5 separate regions of the Homo sapiens genome follow, and all the other regions are linked to region 1. Evidence: promoter capture Hi-C in 16 types of primary human blood cells and fetal thymus (Javierre and others, 2016). All regions are on one chromosome and are shown on one strand. Each heading gives the region's core, a stretch centred on a gene start or on the middle of the fragment in contact. The rest is flanking DNA. Distances are from core to core; before and after follow the strand shown. Region 1 holds the start of PABPC4 (poly(A) binding protein cytoplasmic 4). Region 2 has its middle 62 kb from the start of NDUFS5. Region 3 has its middle 76 kb from the start of MACF1. Region 4 has its middle 28 kb from the start of MACF1. Region 5 has its middle 12 kb from the start of MACF1.

Evidence for each region. The method cuts DNA at HindIII sites, captures the fragments that hold promoters and counts their contacts. A CHiCAGO score of 5 or more calls a contact.
Region 2: a contact is called between a fragment that was not itself captured here and the fragment with the promoter of PABPC4 in region 1, in 1 of 17 cell types (fetal thymus). The highest score is 5.8, in fetal thymus.
Region 3: a fragment that was not itself captured here is called in contact with the fragment with the promoter of PABPC4 in region 1 in 1 of 17 cell types (erythroblasts); the score reaches 5.4 in erythroblasts.
Region 4: a fragment that was not itself captured here is called in contact with the fragment with the promoter of PABPC4 in region 1 in 1 of 17 cell types (fetal thymus); the score reaches 5.8 in fetal thymus.
Region 5: a contact is called between a fragment that was not itself captured here and the fragment with the promoter of PABPC4 in region 1, in 1 of 17 cell types (fetal thymus). The highest score is 7.7, in fetal thymus.

Annotation. Positions count from the first base shown.
Region 1 is chr1:39,575,423-39,578,094 of GRCh38, forward strand. PABPC4 (poly(A) binding protein cytoplasmic 4) reads right to left here and starts at 1,368. Exons shown (of 16, transcript NM_001135653.2): 1 at 337-1,368. The coding sequence starts at 529. RefSeq lists enhancers at 53-172, 193-242, 743-812 and a silencer at 1,313-1,622. The HindIII fragment of the contact is 4,726 bases long and covers 1-2,214 here.
Region 2 is chr1:39,087,249-39,089,920 of GRCh38, forward strand. It overlaps a transcript of MACF1 not described here. Among named protein-coding and RNA genes, the nearest start is that of NDUFS5, 62 kb to the left of the region's middle. The HindIII fragment of the contact is 5,136 bases long and covers 1-2,672 here.
Region 3 is chr1:39,127,404-39,130,075 of GRCh38, forward strand. It overlaps a transcript of MACF1 not described here. Among named protein-coding and RNA genes, the nearest start is that of MACF1, 76 kb to the right of the region's middle. The HindIII fragment of the contact is 1,345 bases long and covers 648-1,992 here.
Region 4 is chr1:39,175,518-39,178,189 of GRCh38, forward strand. It overlaps a transcript of MACF1 not described here. Among named protein-coding and RNA genes, the nearest start is that of MACF1, 28 kb to the right of the region's middle. The HindIII fragment of the contact is 180 bases long and covers 1,287-1,466 here.
Region 5 is chr1:39,191,573-39,194,244 of GRCh38, forward strand. It overlaps a transcript of MACF1 not described here. Among named protein-coding and RNA genes, the nearest start is that of MACF1, 12 kb to the right of the region's middle. RefSeq lists an enhancer at 1-478. The HindIII fragment of the contact is 697 bases long and covers 993-1,689 here.

The sequences.
Region 1 (2,672 bases), core at 118-2,617:
ATCTCTAACAGCCCAGCCCCACTGACAAGGACCACACGCAGTGGAATGCCAGTGGCTTCACTCTAATCCTGTTTTACAGTCTCCTTGGTTTCCAACCCCACTACCAGCAACACTAATAAGTAGCCCAAGGTCACCCAGTTAGCAAGTGGTAGAAACAAGATTGAAACTCGAGTCATCTGATGCCAGGTCCGCGTTCTCAATCTCCGCACCCTGCTCCCAGCTTCGGTGGCAACATGCTGTCGTGATGCCGCCCTCCTCGGCAGGAGGGCCCTGCCAGAAGACGACTCCCGGGGTCCTCCGGGCTCCCACGCACGTGTGGGCACAGCTTCTACTCACCGTCGGCCGGCTGCTGGAAGTTGACGTAGGCATAGCCCAGGGAGCGGCGGGTGATCATATCGCGGCAGACCCGGATGGACAGCACAGGCCCCGCGGGGCTGAACTTTTCGTACAGCATGGCCTCGGTGACGTCCGAATGCAGGTCGCCCACGTACAGGGAGGCCATGGGGTAGCTGCTGGCCGCAGCGTTCATCTCCCCGCCCCCCACCACCCCGAGCCCCGCCAGGAGGACTTCTTATCGGGCCCGCCGCAGGACAAAGGGGCGCCTTCGGAGCCCGGGCCCGCGCCGCGGCTCACAGGTGGCACCGGCGCGGCGAGGACGAGCTGGAGTCGGCGGGCTTGGAGACGGGACGGAAACGGGAGGCGGGGGCCGGCTCCCACGGCCGCAGCACCGCAGACAAAAGGCTCTCCGCACAATACGGCCCTCCCCGCGACTTTGCACTTCTCCGCGGTCCTGGTGCGAAGCTCCAAATTTCAAAAAATCAAAGTAGGAAAAAAATTAAACGGGGAATCCCCTTCCGAAGGGTAAAAATCCTTTAAGAGGCGACCGGACGCTGCCCACGGCGGCCTCGGGGACACGCGTTTCTCTATAAATATAGGCCTCGGGCTCCGGCGGTTTAAGATTACAACCGCCGGGGCAGAGGGAAACCAAATCTTTGTGGGCGCCGACTCGGCGAGCCCCGGGCGGGCGGCGAAGGGCAGCACGGACACGTGGTGCGCCGGGGCAGGCGCGGGGCGCGGGGCTCGGGGCCCGAGCGGGGGGAGGGCACGGCGGGCCGGGCGGGCGGCTCACCCCCGGACCGACGGACGGAGACCGACGGACGCCAAGCGCTGCGGCGGCGGGCGCGGGGCAGGCCGGAAGCGTACGAAAGTGACTTCCCCGCGGGTTCTCCGAGGATTCGTTTTTTCTTTTCCTTTTTTTTTTTCAGGATTTTGAAGCGTTTTCAGATTTTTTTTATCTTTTTCTCTTTTTTTCCTCAGGCTGCGAAGCCCGAAAGCGGCGGAGGCGGCAGCGACCCGGGGCGGAGAGAGGCGGCCGAGGGAGCCACCGCTCCATTTATACCCGCCCGCCCCGGGCGCTGCTGGTCGAAGGGCGCCTCGCGACCTGGGCGCAGTCGTGCCCGCCCACTCGGCCCGGGGGCCCGAGGCGGGGCGGCCACGCGAGAGCGACCCGGCGCGGCCGCGCGGCGCTACAGCGACCCCTGGCGCCGGGAGGACCGCCCAGCTCGCGGCTGCGGGAGACCCCAGGGCCCCTTTCTATAACAAATAAATCTTAACACCCTCCCACCCATCACCCGGGAATGGAACCTAGGAGCCATTTAACCTGCACACACGCATGAGGTTTAAAATTAAATGGTATGGGGCTGGGTGCAGTGGCTCACGCCTGTAATCCCAGCACTTTGGGAGGCCGAGGCGGATGGATCATGGAGGTCAGGAGATCGAGACCATCCTGGCTAACGCGGTGAAACCCCGTCTCTACTAAAAATACAAAACATTAGCCGGGCGTGGTGGCATGCGCCTGTAGTCCTAGCTACTCGGGAGGCTGAGCAGGAGAATAGCTTGAACCCGGGAGGCGGAGGTCGCGGTGAGCCAAGATCGTGCCACTGCACTCCATCCAGCCTGGGCAACAGAGTGAGACTCCCTCTCAAAAAAAAAAAAATTAAATGGTATGCCAAATTGTGAAATGAAGGTGACATAAAATAAGTTAAAATAAAATAATAGGTGGTCCAATAGGTAAATGTCTGGGTCCAAATACAATAAAGATTTGAGAAGTTTTCAGGATACCGTTGACCTAGAGGTAGAATCGTCAGGAACTAGAAATGCAAGCAGTATCCATGGGTGATGGGATTTTCTGAAAAGATGAGCACATTTTGGTAAAGCTTCAATGAAACCAAACACAAGCATCCCCTCTATTGACATGCTGGTGGCATTCCCGGACATTTAGTTTGTGTTTAAGGGCACAGAAATACTTTCTGTTCCTATGTTTAAAGTTTCTTCTAGGCTTGGATAATTATAAAAAGACTTTTCATCTGCATGAGAGTCTGGCAGGTCATTTGAAAGTCGTATCACAGGCCAGGCGTGGTGGCTCACGCCTGTAATCCCAGCACTTTGGGAGGCCGAGGCGGGCGGATCACTGAGGTCGAGAGTTCGAGACCAGCATGACCAACATGAAGAAACCCCCGTCTCTCCTAAAAATACAAAAAGTAGCCAGACATGGGGGTGCATGCCTGTAATCCCAGCTACTCAGGCGGCTAAAGCAGAAGAATCGCTTGAACCCGGCAGGCAGAGGTTGTGGTGAGCTGAGATCATGCCATTGCACTCTAGCCTGGGCAACA
Region 2 (2,672 bases), core at 56-2,555, 490 kb before region 1:
TGGATCTTGCTTATGAAGCCAAGTGGGGGTGTCTGAATCACTCTCACCAAATAGAGATCTTCCCTTTCCCTGGCCCACTCCGTGTCCTGAGCTGGTCTTAGGGCCTCGCCCTTGCTTGAGAGGCCTGATGGGGCAAGCCTGGTGGTCACACATGTCAGAGTAGAGAGGGATGTCGGGGCTGAGAAACCTGCTGATTTCAGTCTACAAAGCCAAACAGGTTTTAGGGTGCTGAACCTTGTTCTTCTTCCCATCTTCCTGTTCTCATCCTTTCCCTACATTTGTTTCTCCTTCTTCTTTGCCAGCCATATTCTCAACTCCCTAAGCCCAGCCACATTCAAATGTAACAAGAGTCACTAATGAAAGTGTCTTGTTTCGGTTTATCAGCTTTATGGTTTACACAGAGATTTCAAAATAACTCTGTTAGGCAGGACATATGTTAGCATCCGAGGCTCAGAGGGTTTAGGGGACTTGCCTATAGTTACACAGGACTGGTAAACACAGATCTTCTAACTCCAAGTACATTGCTATTTCTTTTTTTTTTTGAGACAGAGTCTCACTTTGCCACCCAGGCTGGAGTGCAGTGGCGCAATCTCAACTCACTGCAACCTTCACCTCCCGGGTTCAAGCAATTCTTCTGCCTCAGCCTCCCGAGTAGCAGGGATTACAGGCGTGTGCCACCATGCCCAGCTAATTTTTGTATGTTTAGTAGAGATGGGGTTTCTTTTTTTTTTTGGAGATGGAGTCTCGCTGTCGCCCAGGCTGGAGTGCAGTGGTGCAATCTCTGCTGGATCTCAGCTCACTGCAGGCTCCGCCCCCTGGTTTCACGCCATTCTCCTGCCTCAGCCTCCTGAGCAGCTGGGACTACAGGCGCCTGCCACCTTGCCCGGCTAATTTTTTGTATTTTTAGTAGAGACGGGGTTTCACCATGTTAGCCAGGATGGTCTCCATCTCCTGACCTCGTGATCCGCCCGCCTCAGCCTCCCAAAGTCCTGGGATTATAGGTGTGAGCCACCGCGCCTGGCCCGAGATGGGGTTTCACCATGTTGGTCAGGCTGGTCTTGAACTCCTGACCTCAGGTGATCCGCTTGCCTTGGCCTTCCAAAATGCTGGGATTACAGGCGTGAGCCACCGCACCCGGCCCTGTACATTGTTATTTCTATTTCCTTAGGCAATACCTGGCAACCAGCCCAGTCTGAATCTTCTGTAGTTGACAATCTAAATCTCCACACTCACCTGAGAGACTTGGTCACTTCCGGGAAAGGCCTCAGGATCCTGGTCTATAGAACCAGGAAAGGGGAGAGACAAAGATCTTGGAAAATTTGCCTCTTCCCCTCTGGCTCTCTGTCTTTAGTGAAGAGCAGTAGAAATATCCTTACTTAATGGTGGGGAGCAACAAGGAAGTGGGGCGCTAGGGAGCTTACTGTAGCAAGGAGTACAACCCCAAAGGGTAGAAACAAAGAGAGGAAGAAATGATGTATCCCTTGGGACCTGTGGGGAGTATATTGAGAACAGGGTGCAAGACAGGGTGTCACATGGCTGTACACTGCACAACCCTTGGGGGTGCGATTCACATCACATTTGTTGTCATTGCAGACGTGTACATTTATTATTACAAGTTTCCTGCAGATGGCAGTAACATGTTTTGAAGAAGGGCTCATGTTTGGGCTAGGGCACGGTAGGGTGCAGGAAGATTCCACCATCTACCCATCAATCAGGTATTCATTCATCTAACATCACATAATCAGGACCCTCCCTGTCCTTGGCATTGATATTCAAAGATGACTGAAGATGTGGTCCCTTCTGCATGGAACTCAGTCTAGTGGAGAGGACAGAAGGGAGAAAAGGCCGGGTGTAGTGGCTCACACCTGTAATCTCAGCATTTCGGGAGGCCGAGGCAGGAGAATCATTAGAGCTAAGGAGTTCAAGACCAGCCTATGAGACCCTGTCTCTATTTTTTTTTTAAGTAGTTAGAAGGGAAAAAATAATTATATCCCCGTATGTGTTGTGAAAAAGGGGAGTGCAGTGACTCAGAGCTAAGGATTGGATCCCTCTCTGGTTGTTCATTTATTCATTCCTTCAACTAAAAAAGGGGTTAAGCTATGTGCCAGTAGAAAGCATCTATGGGATTCATTCCTAGGAGTATCAGCAAATGCTGCTGAAATAATCATTCCCAACATCTGCTCCATTGTGGCCTTCTAGTCAGACGACAATTGTCTCTCTGCACAGCCCTTGTTTCAGTTGGCTTTATATTCACGTTCATTGTTCCCAGGTTCATTTCCCTCACCAGCTCTGGAGGTCTCTGTAGTCAGGAGTCCCATCTTACCCTTTTTGCCCTGGGACAGAGAGCCATGAGAGCACTACCTGGTCAGAAGCTGGAGCTTACTCCTCTGGGCCCATGTGTCTCTCCTCCAAGTTGGGAGCTCTGAGAAGACATCTCACAGGCACCTCTCTGCTTCATTCATTCATTCAATAAAAAAAATGGATTAAGCTCCTGCCATGTGCCAGGCACTGCGGAGATAACTGAATCTGGAGTTACAAGACTTAGGCAAATGACCTCACTTCTTGGATCCTCAGTTTCCTTATCTATAAAAGGGAGATGGTGATAAAGGGTGTAAAAGGGAAATGAACGAGAATCAGAATGTGCTGGAAAAACACAGGTTCACATGGCCCGT
Region 3 (2,672 bases), core at 70-2,569, 450 kb before region 1:
AATGGACTGTGTTAAGCACTTTATATACATTAATCCACTTAATTCTCATGATAACCCTGTGAAATAGATTATCTCATTTTGCAGAGGAGAAAAGTGGGTCTCAGCCAGTGAAATAACTTGCTCAAGTTCTCTCACCCAGTAAATGGTAGAGCAGTCATTTATGTGTAGCTCTGTTGGACTTCAGAACTCCAGCTCTTAACTCAGTATATACTTTTCCTTCACTTCCTTGAATAGAACTGTTTGGCTTGAGTCTCCTTTTCTCTAAAAACTCCTAGTTCTGGAATGGTGCCAACTTAAGGGGTCAGGGAAGTGACCTTTACTTGTGTTCCTTTGAGCTGTTATTGTTTTCATTGGGAAAGAGAATGTGAAGTCAGTTCACATTTCTTACCTACTGGTTGCAGTCTTGCCATGGGGCCCTAGTCAGATGTGAGATGTTGTAAGTTACTTAAAAAAAAAAATGTCCTAGTGATTAAGAGGAAAAAACATAGGCCTGCTATGTTTATGTAACTCTCTTTTGTATTATTACAAAATTAAACATGTTCACTGTAATACATTTAAGCAGAAATTACAAAGAAAAAAGTAAAAATTCTCTTTTCTAGTCTTTATTTTCTCCACCTAGGCCCACTGGTCAGGGTAACCACTGTTCAAGCTTTGGTTTGTATCCTTACAGGTTTTTTCTTGCCAGGCTTGCTTTGGAACTGCACCTTTACATCCTTTATATTCCTTTAGGTTGGTTGTGTCTCTTCTTGACTCATGAGCCTTACCTCTTATTTATTTTTATTACCATACATCTGGCTTACATTTTTATTTTTTATTTTTTTTTTAGAGACAGGGTCTTGCTACATTGCCCAGGCTAGTGTGCAGTGGCTGTTCACAGGCACCATCATAGCACAGTGCAGCCTCAAACTCCTGGTCTTAAGCAGTGCCCCCTGAGTAGCTGAGACTACAGGACTGCACCACTGCACTGGGCTGCCTTACTTTTGAGTCTCCCTTTGATACTTAAGAGTTCTGCCATAGGGCCAGGCACGGTGGCTCACGCCTGTAATCCCAGTACTTTGGGATGCTGATGGATCACAAGGTCAGGAGATCAAGACCATCCTGGCTAGCACGGTGAAACCTCGTCTCTACTAAAAATACAAAAAAAAATTAGCCAGGCGTGGTGGCGGGCGCCTGTAGTCCTAGCTACTCGGGAGGCTAAGGCAGGAGAATGGCGTGAACCCAGGAGGTGGAGCTTGCAGTGAGCCGAGATCACGCCACTGCTCTCCAGCCTGGGTGACAGGGTGAGACTCCGTCTCAAAAAAAAAAAAAGATTTCTGCTATTGCACCCTTTTCTGTAGTCTTTCCCTCACCTCCTGGTAAAATTTTACTTACCTTTGAAGCTCAGTTCAAGTCCTCCCTTTTACATTAATCCACTGGAAAGCTAACCCATGATAACTCATTCTGCTTCATAACTCATAGCATTAATTTCTACCACTCATTTGCCAGTTGACCATGAAATGCCGTGTATCGTCACTTGTATTTTATTATTTGTTATTTAACTTATCACACATTTGCCCAGTTAGATTGTGCTGCTTGGGCTCATGGTGATTTATTCTTTCTAGTCCCAATTTTGCCTAACACAATGTCCTACATTTAGCAAGTACTCAGTAAATGTTGATGTGATTGGATTTTGTTAGTACTTCACACCCTTCTAAAGATCAGGTGCTTAGAGCCGGAAGCCTAAGGGAACACTTACCTGGCTGACATCATCTTGGCTGCCTGTCAAGATGGGGTGTGTGCCTGAGAGAACTGCCCGTAAATGAAATACTTGTGCAACAGGTTATGTTTTCTCCTTTAGTGGGTGGGATTCAAGACTTCACATTGGGAAAAAGAGATAGTAAGTGTAGGAAGAGGGCTGAAAAGGGGATGGATGGGAGGATGCTACCTTGTGAGAGGTGGGGATATGGCTTTATTAAAAACATAAATATTAAAGGCTGGCGTATTGCAGAGAGAAGCTTCTTGGAACCAGCAGGCTAATTAGGCAAACTGGCTTCTCTGGTGCAAACCAGTTGTTAATTGCCATTTATTTTCTTTGCTATAAAACTGTACCAGCCATCTACTTACTTTCTCATTAGAGTGAATCTGGAGAAAAGGCTTAGGTTAGATTTAGGAAATCCAGGAGAAAAATGCAGGACAGTCAGAGTAAGACCAGGGATGGGCATAATCCTTTCTCTCACTTGTCTTACCAGCCCTAGACCTTAAGGGTGGCCAGGACCTCCTTGCATTTGCCAGTAGAGGTTGCTATTGAAGTAGTGTAAAACCTCTTGTTTCTATTCCTGCTAACTCCTTTTGCCCCATCTTATTTTTCTCCTTCACTGACACCCTCCTATCACACACACATTATTGGTTAGTTATCATTCCCATCTCTGAGGTTCACATATGCAGTGGACCACCCTGCCTTTAGCTGTCCAGACTTTGACTGCAACCTGTCTTTCTATTCCACTCCTCCTCCCCTCCCCCAAATGATTTGAAATGGAGAGGAAAGGAAATGGAGTTTGATGGTTTTAACTCTTCTGTGGCTGTGGCTTAGGGAGCAGAATGTTTTGATTGCTTGATTTAGGGGTCTTGAGGTCTCCTAATACAATATTCTTTTTGTTAATAGAAAGGCCCCACTCCATTTTTTTTTTCTCTGA
Region 4 (2,672 bases), core at 127-2,626, 400 kb before region 1:
TTGAGTGGAATTGTGAGCAAACTTTTGTACTGTTTATTTTTCTCTTCCTGGTCAAGTTTGCATAGTTAAATGCAAGTATGTTGTGATTGTATTTTATCCTTCTTTTCTGCTTTCTGTTTTTCTAATTTCTTCTTCCCTTTTAAAAATCCTCACTGCCGGGGGCAGTGGCTCACACCTATAATCCCAGCACTTTGGGAGGCTGAGGCAGGCGAATCACTTGAGGCCAGGAGTTTGAAACCAGCCTGGCCAACGTGGTGAAAGCCTCTCTCTACTAAAAATACAAAAATTAGCCGGGTGTGGCCAGGTGCAGTGGCTCACGCCTGTAATCCCAGCACTTTGGGAGGCCAAGGAGGGTGGATCACAAGGTCAGGAGATCAAGACCATCCTGGCTAACATGGTGAAACCCTGTCTCTACTAAAAATACAAAAAAAAAAAAAAAAAAATTAGCCAGGTGTGGTGACGGGCACCTGTAGTCCCAGCTACTCGGGAGGCTGAGGCAGGAGAATGTCATGAACCCGGGAGGCGGAGCTTGCAGTGAGCTGAGATTGCGCCACTGTACTCCAGCCTGGGCGACAGAGCGAGACTCCTTCTCAAAAAAAAAAAAAAAAAAGCCAGGTGTGGTGGCAGGCGCCTGTAATCCCAGCTACTCAGGAGGGAGGCTAGTGCAGGAGAATCACTTGAACCCGGGAGACCCAGGTTGCAGTGAGCCGAGATCACACCTCTGCACTCCAGTCTGAGTGGCAGAGTGAGACTCTGTCTCCAAAAAAAAAAAAAATTCTCACTTTCTTCTTCTAAATCCATTTTATAGCACACAACAATTCTTCTCTTACCCAGAATGCTTATTTGTGTGTTAGCTTGTCCCATTTCTTAGTCATTTTCGTTATTCAAAATTATTTAAAGGAGAATTGAGAGTAGGAAGGGAAGACTTCTAATAGTCCTCTTCGTTTAAATTCTGTAATCATAGCTTCCACTCTCCTCCTTTTAGGTCCTCTAACTTTTGATTCTTATACCTTGCATATGAGGCTCTTTCCTTCTTTTTCCCCCCATTTTAGTCATTTTTCTGTAGAAAATTTCTGCTTATGCTTGGGGAGCTAGATATGAATTCTTGTTATACTTACTAAGCATCACTGGTTCTATCTCTAGATGTTTAATAGTCAGGTTTTTAGATCAATAGGTTTTTAGATCAATCCCAAATTCATAGTGTCATGAAAAGATAGATGAGGAACTGAGCCCACCTGGAGAAGTCAAAGGATACTTGGGCCAAGTGATATAACTAGTTATTGACAAGCTTAAACCATGACCCAGGGTTCTGATGTACAGTTGAATGCCTTTCCTCCAAATCACATTGCTTGCTGTTGAAGCCTTGGCTAGGAGTAATCTTTAGTAAGATCCTTGAATTGTGACTTTTTTTCTTTTGTTTAATTTTATTACAGTTCCTTCCTTTAACAAAAATGCTAAGTAATATAAGCTTTAAGAGGGTTAAAATTAGTCCGGTTTCAAAGATATATTTGAGAATTATGTAGTATCTCTTGAGATAGTCTAGAGATCTTAGAGCTACGTTGGGGCCTAAGGACTGAGAATCGCTGTCATCAGACTAGAGGTTTGAGAAAAGGAGATTTTTATTTATTTATTTTTGAGACCTAGTTTCGCTCTTGTTGCCCAGGCTGGAGTGCAATGGCGCAATCTTGGTTCGCCACAACCCCCGCCTCCCAGGTTCAAGCGATTCTCCTGCCTCAGCCTCCTGAGTAGCATGTGCCACCACGCCCAGCTAATTTTGTATTTTTAGTAGAGACGGAGTTTCTCCGTGTTGGTCAGGCCGGTTTCAAACTCCTGACCTCATGTGATCCACCCGCCTCGGCCTCCCAAAGTGCTGGCATTACAGGCGTGAGCCACCTTTCCCGGCCTAACTACTGTTTCTATAGAAGGAGTTTTCCAGATTGATGCCTAATGTACAAATAACTGCATCATCAGTCCCTGGCTGTCATCATTTTGCTGTGCAAAAAGGGAACATCAGAGAGGGGTCCAGGAGCCACTCCACATATCATTCGTAAATGTTATTGCTAATGGAGAGAGGGATGATGGTGGGGGCAGGCGTATTTGTGTTCATAGAGGAAGGTAGGACTGTAATCTCCATGCCTAGTTTCTGATTGGCATTGATAATATAACCATCTTTCAGAGAGTCAGCTCCAAGAGGTAACTGGGAAACATCTCAGTTTTGCTCCGGGCACTATTTCCTTTGCCATCTATACCAGAAGCTGTGGTGAATGGGAAAGCCATTGCTTTCTGAAGTGCCCTTAGGCCTTTCTCAGTGACTCTTAAGTTTTAAGAATCATTTGGGTGAGCATAATGCTGAAATCCTGTAGCTATGAAAGCTGCACTGCCATGGCAATAAAACTCCCCATTGAATAAGTAAAATGGCAATTTCCAGGAATCTGGGTGGTAGTTATTTCAATCAAGTTGAGAAATGGGATCACCGAGAGGGGGATTTCCGCAGAATCTGGGCTGTCAGGGAAATCTTTAGGCTGTCAGGGAAATCTTTATTCCCCATTGTCTTCTCCTTACAAATTCCAGGAGAGGAGTATGAGGTTATATTTGTGTCCTCAGTAAGCCCATAAAGGTCAGCCAGTGTGCTACCTTACATTGTAATTTTCCTTTTCAACATTCTTTTTTTT
Region 5 (2,672 bases), core at 91-2,590, 380 kb before region 1:
TAAGAGGCTGCCTCCTTCTTCTGAGATTGGGCTTTTCATCAGGGCTGTGCCACAGGGTGTGATGCTGTGTGATAGCAGATGGCTCTGCTTCATGCCCATTACTTTTTGTTTTATCCAAAGTAGAAGCTGTGGTCCCCAGATTTTAGAGAGTAAGGGCTTAATCATACTCATTGGCTTTTCTGCCTTTGCCTGTTTCTGCATTGCCACCTGGCTGCCATTAGAGGGAATTCATTACAACTCTGAGTCCCTGCAGGGAGCTGAGAGGAGCTATCCTTGTGTTTAGGATGGGACATGTGTTCTTAAAACTGGGCCAGGCACGGTGGCTCCCAGCACTTTGGGAGGCCGAAGCAGGTGGATCACTTGAGGCCAGGAGTTCGAGACCAGCCTGGCCAACATGGTGAAACTCCGTTTCTATTAAACATACAAAAATTAGCTGGGTGTGGTGGTGTATGCCTGTAATCCCAGCTACTCAGGAGACTGAGGCACAAGAATTGCTTGAACCTGGGAAGTGGAGATTGCAGTGAGCCGATATCTCACCACTGCACTCCAGCCTGGGCGACACAGCAAGACTCTGTCTCAAAAAAAGAAAAAAACAAAAAACTTAAAAATGGTTACCCAGATTTCCTTTTATGACTTGTTCAGTCAGAGGCAGCTGGGAGGATGCACGCTGGGGAAAGCATTACTCACCAGGCACACATAGTGGCCCTGACTGCTGGCAAGTAGTCTGGGCTGTGTTAAGAGTGAGTCACCTCGGGGAATGGAAAAATTGCAAGGTACTGAGGGGTAGGAGTTGTGTGCCAGTGACTGCTCCTTTTCTGTCTGCTATTTTCTCTATAAGGACTCATCACAAAACCATAAATACTGACGATCCTGTTGAGGCAGCCGTGAAGCCAACCAACTTTATGGTGATAATGTTTCCCATAAAAGGAATGAGCTGACTGGACATAGCATTGTTGCCTTCTATGTTACAGGTGTATATAGATTTTGACACAAGCTTGAACTTGTATAATGAAAGTTCCATGTGTGAGAATTTCATCAGAATAAAAGCAACACAGTTTTCTTTGTTGTTTAAAAACTTAGTCTTCTGTGTCTATCTATCTTTGTCCAGTAGGGGTCACTGAGGGTTAGGCTCTCAATAAGAGAAACACTAATCTAGTGATAAATGAGCTGGATTCCTTGTCTATTGTGACATCTTTGTATATTCAGTACTATGTTTTTTAAAATATTAGAGCAGAAACAAAAGGCGTGAACTTGTATTAAGAACTTTATGGGCGAAGCGCAGTGGCTCATGCCTGTAACCCGAGGCGGGTGGATATCACCTGAGGTCAGGAGTTCGAGACCAGCCTGGCCAACATGGTGAAACCCCGTCTCTACCAAAAATACAAAAAAATTAGACGGGCATGGTGGCGCATGCCTGTAATCCCAGCTACTTGGGAGGCTGAGGCAGGAGAATTGCTTAAACCCGGGAGGCAGAGGTTGCAGTGAACCGAGATTGTGCCATTGCACTACAGTCTGGGCAACAAGAGTGAAATTCCATCTCAAAAATTAAAAAAAAAAAGAATATTTCTGGACAAAAATAACAATCCTGGGCAAGATTCTGGAACAGTCCCCATAGACAGGGCTTCTTTTCTTCGTATCATTTTTTTCTCCATTTCTTTAAGATGTTGGCTACCAGAGTTTCCTGGAAAAAGCTTACTAGATAGATATTATTTCATTGGGGAAAAGGGTCAAAATGCCAGAGAGAGAGATTACTTAAAATGGTAATATGGCTGTTGAGGTTGACTAGATATTCTTGTCCTTTCCCTTTTTGAAGCAATGCTGTCGAAGCCTAATTTGACTTAGTCATTGAGCTGTTCAATACCACACATTACTTTCACTTACCTTCTTGCATTTGCCACTGAGGATGACTTGATGCCCTGCTAGGAGGTCTCTTGTGTGGTAATCATAATAACAAGAGTTGGCATTAATGAGTCAATGTTTAATGCTTTTTAAATAGTTAATGCTTACTGTGTGCCAAATATATTATGCATTTTCTCACTTAATCCTCACTGTAACACTGTGAAGAGGTAATTTTATTATCCCTTTTTGACATGAGATAACTATGGATTAAAGAGATTAAGTAATTGGTTCATAGATACACAACTAGAGATTGTGAAATCAGAATTTGAATATAGGTTTGGCTCACAAATTATATTTACAGCCCTGGTAAGAGAGAGAGGGAGAGAGAGAGAGAGAGAGGCAGGCACTTGGGTTTAAGAGTGAGTTTTCTTTTTTCTTTTTTTCTTTTTTTGAGACAGTTTCGCTGTTGTTGCCCAGGCTGGGGTGCAGTGGCATGATCTCAGCTCACTGCAACCTCCACTTCCTGGGTTCAGGCAATTCTCTTGCCTCAGCCTCCCAAGTAGCTGGGATTACAGGCACTCCTGGGTAATTTTGTATTTTTAATAGAGATGGGGTTTCACCATATTGGTCAGGCTGGTCTCGAACTCCTGACCTCAGGTGATCCAACCACCTCGTCCTCCCAAAGTGCTGGGATTACAGGCATGCGCCACCACACCTGGCCAAGAGTGAGTTTTCTAAGTGCTGTACCAGAGCATCTCTCACTTTATTTTCTGCCCCTCCTCTTTAGTGTTACTTTCCCTTTTCTTTCTTAAGGGTAAGACCTTCAGTTGCTG